3 separate regions of the Homo sapiens genome follow, and all the other regions are linked to region 2. The links are contacts of gene promoters, found by promoter capture Hi-C in blood cells and fetal thymus (Javierre and others, 2016). All regions are on one chromosome and are shown on one strand. The core of a region is centred on a gene start or on the middle of the fragment in contact, and the rest is flanking DNA. Distances in the headings are between cores, read along the strand shown. Region 1 holds the start of OR5D13 (olfactory receptor family 5 subfamily D member 13). Region 2 has its middle 8.1 kb from the start of OR5D3. Region 3 holds the start of OR5D14 (olfactory receptor family 5 subfamily D member 14).

What was found. Contacts are between HindIII fragments. The CHiCAGO score rates a contact against its expected background, and 5 or more counts as called.
Region 1: a contact is called between the fragment with the promoter of OR5D13 here and a fragment that was not itself captured in region 2, in 1 of 17 cell types (neutrophils). The highest score is 5.6, in neutrophils.
Region 3: the fragment with the promoter of OR5D14 here is called in contact with a fragment that was not itself captured in region 2 in 1 of 17 cell types (neutrophils); the score reaches 5.2 in neutrophils.

Annotation. Positions count from the first base shown.
Region 1 is chr11:55,771,946-55,775,037 of GRCh38, reverse strand. OR5D13 (olfactory receptor family 5 subfamily D member 13) reads right to left here and starts at 1,600. Exons shown (of 1, transcript NM_001001967.1): 1 at 656-1,600. The coding sequence starts at 1,600. The coding sequence ends at 656. The HindIII fragment of the contact is 6,164 bases long and covers 470-3,092 here.
Region 2 is chr11:55,730,393-55,733,447 of GRCh38, reverse strand. No RefSeq gene overlaps it. Among named protein-coding and RNA genes, the nearest start is that of OR5D3, 8.1 kb to the right of the region's middle. The HindIII fragment of the contact is 1,458 bases long and covers 805-2,262 here.
Region 3 is chr11:55,793,838-55,796,974 of GRCh38, reverse strand. OR5D14 (olfactory receptor family 5 subfamily D member 14) reads right to left here and starts at 1,419. Exons shown (of 1, transcript NM_001004735.1): 1 at 475-1,419. The coding sequence starts at 1,419. The coding sequence ends at 475. The HindIII fragment of the contact is 1,368 bases long and covers 1,350-2,717 here.

The sequences.
Region 1 (3,092 bases), core at 351-2,850, 42 kb before region 2:
ATTATTTTTCTCCATTGAATTATAATGGCCTGTTTGTTGGAATATAAGTTACCAGATATGTGTGACTTCATTTTAGGACTCTGTTACCTTAATATCCCATTGCCTGAATACTCAGATAATTTTTTAGAATAAAATAGGGCATGCATTAAGAAAGGTAGAGTAATACTTAATTCCATTTCATTTGCTAATCAGCAGGCTATAATTTTCATGAATAAAAATCAACTTCTTCCATTCAAAACAAGAAAAAGTAAAGGGTTGGTTGTTCCACAAGACACAGTAAGCAGAAGTTTTGTTAAAGTCACTCAGGAATATGGTTTTCCTGATTACAATTTTAGGGAACCATCCTGAATCTGCACACATTTAATCAGTTTGAATCAGTTTTGCTTTGAAAATACACATAAAATTACAGAATACCTAGAAAAGTATTTTAAAATAATTTACAAATACTGCAACAGATGATATAAAAGCTTTAGGTTTTAGAATTTTTAGTTACATGTCATTTAGATCTATTTCAAAAGGTTGTGCTGGTGTGAATGTGTCAACTGATAGTCTATTGATTAAATAATTTGAATAATCAATTGCACTGTAAGAGATGGGTAATCTGTAAGATAGTAAATCACTTTTTTCAGAAATAACGTATCTAAGAACATCATATTCAGTGGTAAATCAATTTGGTGACAACTAATTTTTCAAACATGTTATTGATATCTTTGTTCCTAAGGCTGTAGATCAATGGGTTCAGCATTGGAATCGCCACTGTGTAAAACACAGAAGCCACTGTAACTATGAGGCTAGAAGTTTTAGGATTAGGAACACAGTAAAGGAAAAGGATAGTTCCATGGAAGATAGTGATGGCTGTCAGGTGGGAGGCACAGGTGGAGAAAGTTTTCTGGCGCCCACTTGCAGATCGCATCTTCATAATGGTAGTGAAAATAAGCATATATGATGTCAGAATGATAATTAGGCTGCTCACCTCATTGAATATGGCAATAATAAAGCATAGCCTCTGGCTGATATAGGGGTCTGAGTAGGAGGCAGAAACAATTACAGAGTGGTCACAGATAAAATTATTTATGAAGGTAGATTCACAAAACGATAAGTCAAGAAGAAAATATGTGAGTATCAGGGAGCACACTATCCCCCATGTATAGGACCCAGCCACCAGAAGAGCACAGAGCTTCTGAGACATAATAGTGGTATACAGCAAGGGTTTACAAACTGCCACAAAACGGTCATAAGCCATCGCTGCTAACATGAAAGTTTCTGTCACTCCAAAAATGCAAGCAAAACAAAATTGCATGATGCAACCAGAGAAAGAGATGGTTCTGTATTCCACAACCAAGTTCTCCAACAGTTTAGGTGTAACTACAGTGGAAAAACAGAAGTCTGTCAAGGACAAGTGACTAAGGAAAAAGCACATGATTGTATGGAGTTTTGAATTGAGTCTGATGATTATTATCATGCCCAAGTTCCCCACTACAGTGACTGTGTAGACGAACAAGAAAACCAGAAAGAGTGGAACCTGGATTTCTGGGTATTCTGAAAAACCCAAGAGAATAAAAGTGGGTGTGCTGCTTTGATTTCTTTCAGATGCCATCATGATACTTGTTGGATTAAAAGGAAAAAAGTTATTCTTGAAAAGCAGAACTGGATAGGAAAAAAGAGATAGGAAAGAGGCTTCATGTGTTTCTAGGACAAGTGATATAGAACAGTGATTCTCAAAATGTGGTCATCAAACCAGCAGTAGCATCACCTCCTGGGAACTTCCTACTATTGCCAATTCTCCAGCTCCATCAACCTTCTGAACAGAAGCTCTGGGATGAGGCCCACTATTTGTGGTTTAGTCAAGTCTCCAGGTGATTTTGATGCCTGCTAAAGGGCAAAAACCACCACTTACATGGAAAATATACAGTAATCATTCTATTATTGAAAAGTCAGCCATTTTTAGTATGATTGACATAGAACTGAAATATATATTATGACATAAAATCAATTTTTAAAAACTGAGAAGCACAAAGGAAACCTTCTCATGGATCTAAAAATTACACTGAGGATCAAGTAGGTGATTTAGCACCGCCAATGGTGGCACATAAATGTTACTATTTTCTACCTTTGCTGGGCATAACACAGAATTAAATGATTGTAGAATTTAAGAATTTAAATAAACCATAAAATGTATATAGCCTATGCCTTGCACCTAATCCTCAAGAGTTTGCTGTGGAAGCCCATTTCTAAGATGTTTATGTAGCTTCCATTAAAACTTTCATCAATGTACATTGCCTCCTGGAGTGTTTTTATGGGCATTTTGACAATTTGCTGAACTTTTATTATTTTATTAAATAAAGTCAATTAATTAAATTTCCATTACCTGTTCCTTGATGTGCTTTAGGTCACATCTTCTGAGATATACATATATATGTATACATGTATGCACATAATATGTATTCTATATGTGCTAATACAGAATATGTTAGAAAAATAGAAACATCTGTAGTTGTCAAAAATATTTTCATACAAAATATATTCTCTGATACCCTGAAAGTTGTATAATGAAAATTACACATGTTCTTAACCAATAAGAAATAAATAATCTCTCTTTCTTTTTTTTTTTTTTTGAGCTTGAGGCAATTTTATTGAAATTAGTGGTAAGAATGAAAGATTACAGCCAATCTAAAATCAGTGGGCTACATCAAATTATAAACAAAGGTTGTAATCTAGTCATTCAACATGCACTGTTTATATGGAGTTATTTCTATTTATTTATTTTTGTTTGCTTGTTTTTGAGACAGGGTCTCACTCTGTCACCCAGGCTAGAGTGCAGTGGCAAGATCAATGCTCACTGCAGCCTCGAACTCCCAGGCTCAAGTGATCCTCCTCAGTAGATGGGACTACAGGCATGCACCACCACACTAGGATAATTTCTTATTTTTCTCTAGAGACAGGGTCTCACTATGTTGCCCAGGGTGTTCTCAAACTTCTGAGCTCAAGCGGTTATCTCTCTTTCATGATAAGACAAACTTTAAGAAGACAGGGGAGTGAAAATAATAAAACCTAAAGTAAATGGACTTGTTATGAGTGAAAAAGCATGAATA
Region 2 (3,055 bases), core at 284-2,783:
TTCTCACTCACCTGGAATCTCTAAACTGTAATCTTATCAAAGACCTCCAAAACATATTAAGATTTCAATGATATTTTGTTCAAAACTGACTGCTCATTTCCAAAGCCACCTTAACATCTTGGGTTTTTATTTGGCAACAATATATTCCCAGGCACCAAAAATCCACTGATATAGTTTGACTCTGCGTCCCCACCCAACTCTCATGTCGATTGTGATCCTCAGTGTTGCAGGAGGGACCTGGTAGGTGATTCACAGAGGCGGACTTCCCCCTTGCTGTTCTCCTGATGGTAAATGAGTTCTCAGAAAATCTGGTGGTTTAAAGTGTGTACACTTCCCCTTTTACTCTGTCTCTCCTGCCAGCCATGAGAAGACATTCCTGCTTCCTCTTCACCTTTCTGCCATGATTGAAAGTTTCCTGAGGCCTCCTTAGACCTGCCTCCTGTACACCCTGTGAACTGTATGTCAATTAAACCTCTTTTCTTCATAAATCACCAAGTCTCAAGGTAGTTCTTGATAGAAGTGTGAGAACTGACTAATACAGTTGCATTAATTATTCATTGACAGCTAAAAAGTATCCCCAAAACTTCGCAGTTTGAAACAATAAACACTGATTACCTCATGGTTTCTATGCATCAGAAATCCAGGAGCAGCTTAGCTCCAAGTTTAGAGTCTCCCATGAGGTTGCAACCAGCCTTCCAGAGCTACAGTAATCTCAAGGCTTAAACAATGTCAAACTTCTGCATCCAAGCTCACTCACAAGGTTGCTGGCACCTCTTGTTCCTTGAAGGCTGTTGGCCAGAAGCTTAGGTTCCTCATCCCAAAGGTCCCTTCACAGGGTTATTCAAATATGGCCACTTCCTCCCGAATGAGAGACCTAATGTAGGTGGAAAAAGACAGAGAGAGAGAATCCAGACTGTTAAGACTGAACCTCAAGTATTATGTATTCTCATTCCTACCACATGCTATTCATCACACAGACCAAGCCAGGTAAAGTATGGGAGGAGACTCCACAATGATGTGAATACCAGAGAATGGGATCATTGGGGGTTCCATGTATGGCTGACTACCACAATCACTGGGAGTAAAATTCAAAAGATAGAGGTGGGACAATAAGAGTGTCTGGTAAGGAATTATGCAAGAGAGGCAAGCTGAAGGTTACTTTTTGAATGGTTTGCGACAGCTTACTCAAGTGTGATATGTGTTGCCTCCATAACTGAAAGACGCAGTACATTTTAAATCACTTAATTGCAGTACAAATTGCCCTAAGTTGTCATTTGCTTTGGAGAGGATATCTCAACATTCTGCAGAACACAAGATCAAAAGAATTCTTTTCTGATGTTAAGAATACTTGTATTTTTATAGGATTTATTTAAGACATCATCTCTGACACATCAGTTTCTCACTAAGAAATTGAGGACACTTGCCCAGTGTCTTAAATATCTCTAGTTCTCTGACAGTAAATTATGCCAACATTTGGATGCCCTGAATTTTTATTATCTTTTTGCAAGCTCTCCCAGGCATTCAGAAGATCCCAGTTCTTGTAATCACCACCACTTCCATGACAGTTTTGTGAAACCCCCACCTCAGTCCTCCAGGCATTTGATTCAGTGAGCACTTCATTATAATCATGCACAAAGGATTATTTAGTTAGCCACGTTACTATACACCATGGATTACTGAATACAATTTCTATTTTAAAGATGCTTAGCCCTGTCTTCACGGCCAAGTGTATGATTAGATACCCATATTTGAAGGTCTAGTTCAGAGAACATTATTACCAAGAGTCTGAGTCTATTCGAGAAAAACACAATCTTTTCTAGGGATTTCAAAACATAACATTTAGTACAGAAAAATTATTTTTACAATTGTTAAACAATTGATGAAAAGGCAAAAACCCCACAAAACCTTAATATACCACAGTAGTGGTTACTGCAGAAAAGAACTACTATCTCTAAAGCTGAGGGATGCTGGGATTAATACAATGTGGAAGGATGTAGACAGATATCACAGATCTAGGAAAAAAAATGTTAATTATCTTACATTGAGAGATCTTTTACATTCCCTTACTAACTCTAATTGGTTTTGATAGATCTTTTTGGATTTGGATGTTCATACAATTATATTATCTTAAAACATGAAAGTGTTATTCTGTCTTCACTAATGTTCTTTTTTTCCTGTCTTACTCAATTGTCTAGAACAACCTTTCCACAGAAGTGGAAATAATGAACATTCTTCTCTTGAGTTGAAATTTAAAACAAAGCTTCTATTATTTCTTTTCTCTTTTTTGTTGTTTTTTCATTTTGTTTTGCTTTTTTTTGAGACAGAGTCTCACTCTGTCTCCAGGCTGGAGTGCAGTGGTGCGATCTCGGCTCACTGAAACCTCCAACTCCCTGGTTCAAGCCATTCTCCTGCTTCAGCCTCCTGAGCAGCTGGTATCACAAGCACACACCACCACGCCCAGCTAATTTTTGTATTTTTAGTAGAGACGGAGTTTTGCCATGTTGGCCAGGATGGTCTCAATCTCCCGACTTTGTGATCCGCCCACCTCGGCCTCCCAAATTGCTGGGATTACAGGCAGGAGCCACTGCACCTAGCCGATTATTTTAACCTTAATTGTGATATTTACCTACAGATTTGGTAGGTAAAAGATTAAGACATTTCTATTTCTATTTTTCTGGGAGCTTTTGTTTTCTTCTGTTTTGTTTTATTATGAACAAGTGCATAAAAGTTAATTGTATGCATCAATTAACTGGGCCACAGGGTGCCCAGATATTCAGTCAAACATTATTATGGATGTTTTTATAAGGGTGTTTTTGGATGAGATTAACAACTAAATCAATCAGTAGCCTAAGTAAAGTAGATTGCCTTTGCTAATGGGGATGGGACGCGTCCATCAGTAAATGCCTGAGTCTAACAAAAGGCTACTTCTCTCCCAAGCAAAGGAAAATTCTTTCCTCTTTCTGCCTTTGAACTGAGACATTAGGTGTTTGCCTATAGACTGAAACTGGAACATCAGCTCTTCATGGGTCTCAAAACTGTTGACCTTCTGACTGGA
Region 3 (3,137 bases), core at 170-2,669, 64 kb before region 2:
ACAATCTGATTAGCTGCTGATAGTATTCTATCTTTCTGGAGCATTAAATTGCCCAAAGCTCATCTTGCCTATTTTCCACCCTAGACTTCAAATTAGCCATTTCTCCAAGAAGCCCTAGTTTTGTTCCTAGGGGAAAGGTTTCTTTTTAGAGAAAATTTGGAGAATGTTGCTTGAATTTGTATAGTATTTGTTACCAAATATTTGTGTTTATTTAGTCATTCATATAAAAGTTAGAAATAATTTTGAAATATGGTTTCTCATTGTTTTCAGATTAAATGTTTATTTTCATTCATTTTGTATAAACTGGACTAAACTTGTAGAGATTTCTGAACCTGATAATACTGGGAATGCTATATCAATTCACATTTGACAATTCCATAAAAACCTCATATAAATATATGCTCTAGGCTTTAGAAACATTGTAGCCTCTGTTTGGGTTGTTCATTTGGATTGAAAACAACTTTTGAGACTGGTTCAGTGAAATGGAACTTGTGTATGTATTAACTTCCAGAAAGCATCCTTCACGTCTTTATTCCTTAGGCTGTAGATCAGAGGGTTCAGCATGGGGTTGACAACTGTGTAAAATACAGAGGCCACTTTGACTGTTTGCCGAGAGTTTTTGGAGTTGGGTACACAGTAAAGGAAAAGGATGGTCCCATGGAAGATGGTGATAGAAGTCAGGTGGGAGGCCCAGGTGGAGAAGGCTTTGTGGCGCCCACTAACAGAACGGATTTTTAGTACAGTCACAAAAATGAAAACATAGGAAGTGAGGATGATCAGTAGTGTACACATCTCATTGAAGGTGGCGAAGCTGAAAAGCAGCAGGTGGGGGATGAGTATATCAGAGCCAGACACAGAGATGAGAGCAGTATACTCACAAAAGAAGTGGTTGATTACATTAGGTCCAGAGAAGTTTAACCGGAGAGCATAACAAAGGAGTACCAAGGGGCCAAACATGCCCCAGAGATATGACCCAGCCACCAGCAGGGCACAGAGCCTCTGTGACATGGCCACTGTATAAAGCAGAGGATTGCAGATGGCCACAAAGCGGTCATAGGCCATCACTGCCAGCAAGAAAGACTCTGTCACCACAGCAGTGCAGGACAGGAAGTACTGCATCATGCAGCTAAAGTAGAAGATGCTTTTATCTGCCATTACCAAGTTCTCAAGCAGCTTGGGAGTGACAATGGAAGAGTAACAAAAATCAACAAAAGAGAGGTGACTAAGGAAAAAGTACATAGGAGTGTGAAATTTGGGGTTAATCTTGATTATTATGATCATCCCAAGGTTTCCTACCACTGTGATAACATACATGAGCAGAAACACAAGGAAGAGAGGAATCTGAAGCTTTGGGTAATCTGTGAAACCTAAAAGGGCAAAGGTGGGCTCCATGCTCAGATTCCTTAAAACCATCATCATAATTCCTTTTAATGGAAGGGTTGAAGAGAATTGTTCCTGCCAAAGCAAAATATGGGGTGAGTGATAATTATGTCATGACTTTCTTTGATTAAAAGGAAAAAAGGAGAAGGAATAGTTACTGGTCCTAGTTTTGTCCAAGAAGAACATACCTCATGCAGGCAGCTGTTATGTCTAAAACAAACCAAGCCAAGTCTTTGGAGTGTCTTTCCATTTTTATTACACTTTCTGTTTTCATACATATATATATGTGTGAATATATATGTGTATGTGTATGTGTGTGTATATGTGTACAGTAGTATACATGTCTACACATTAACTAGTAGCATGACATGCACATAACTTATAGAAAATGTTTATACATAAATATATAAACTAATAAAGATTCTGTGGAAAATGTAAAATATTTACATCAAACAACAACATGCATTGCTACTGTATTTGTTTATATAGACAAATTGATTAAAATATTCAGAATATATTTCTATTCTAAGGATAAAGGAAAATATTGTAGAAATCTGGAAAAAGAGCACACTAATTCCACTTTTTACCAACTTTTATTCTAGAAAGGCTACTTCTCTCATTGAATATCTTAGTTGCTGAGGAGTTGACAAGGACAATGGCCTACTTTTGACCTCTTGGTGGAATGGGCATTTTATTGGGGTTTATGACTTAAGGGTCAGCATCTACTATAGCTCAGGTATTGCATAAGTATCTTATAAGAGTCTCAAGATTTATCAGGTGAAAGTTCCCTTAAGCCTGACTAGTTTTCAATCTTATAAAAATTTACACACTAATTTAAGATGAATATAAAGGAAATATGGATAAATATCCATTTCCAAGTAGCAAGTTTATACTATTCATCATGAGATAATTTTCAATGGATATAAGGCTAAATATTTTCATGAGTGTTGACCTCATTTTTTAATATTATTGGGCACAGAATTGAATAACACAGTGATTTAACATTTAAAAAATCAAAGGCCCCATTTGCCGTATCAGGAAGACCCTATTTTCAGTTTCATAGAAAGCCTGAATACACTTACCTGCTACATACAAAGAAACAGGCTGCCACCCTCCTGTCTCTTCAGACAGTGTATACCTGAGGCACCAAGACTCTTTCATTTAACTTCATAGCCCTAGGGACTCAAACTCTGGAGAATCACTAACAACTTACTCTTTACAAGCATCAAAACAGGCAATTAAGGCAAATACCAAGTCTCTTGTGTCACATTTAGTGACTGGAATTTCCTTGAAACTACTCAGAAAAAAAAATGCAGCATGAAGTTAACTATCAAGCTTTGCTTGCATGTAATTCAAATTACAATAAAACTTTAAATACTTGCCTCATCTGTTCCAAAATTCAGTGCACCTCTTAGTGAGATATAATCTATCCTGCATGCATCCTGGGTATAAATATGCAGCAGCCAATAGCACTCCTATTCCTGAAAACACAAGTAAATTTCATAATCAAGTGCTACAGATGTCCGTGGCCCATACCTTGCTGTATTGCTTCTTCTTGCTCAGCCTGAATTTGTGTCTCATGGGGCATTCCCTATGGCAACCTGAATGTGGAAGAAAGCATAGGAGCCTCATTTTCAGATGATTCCCCATGATATGCTGGCCCACACAAAAGTGAATAACTGCAGGACTGTAATCCTACCTTAAGGTGGCCCTGAAAAGCAACAGTTAAAGACAAATATTCTAGTATTTACAAATTC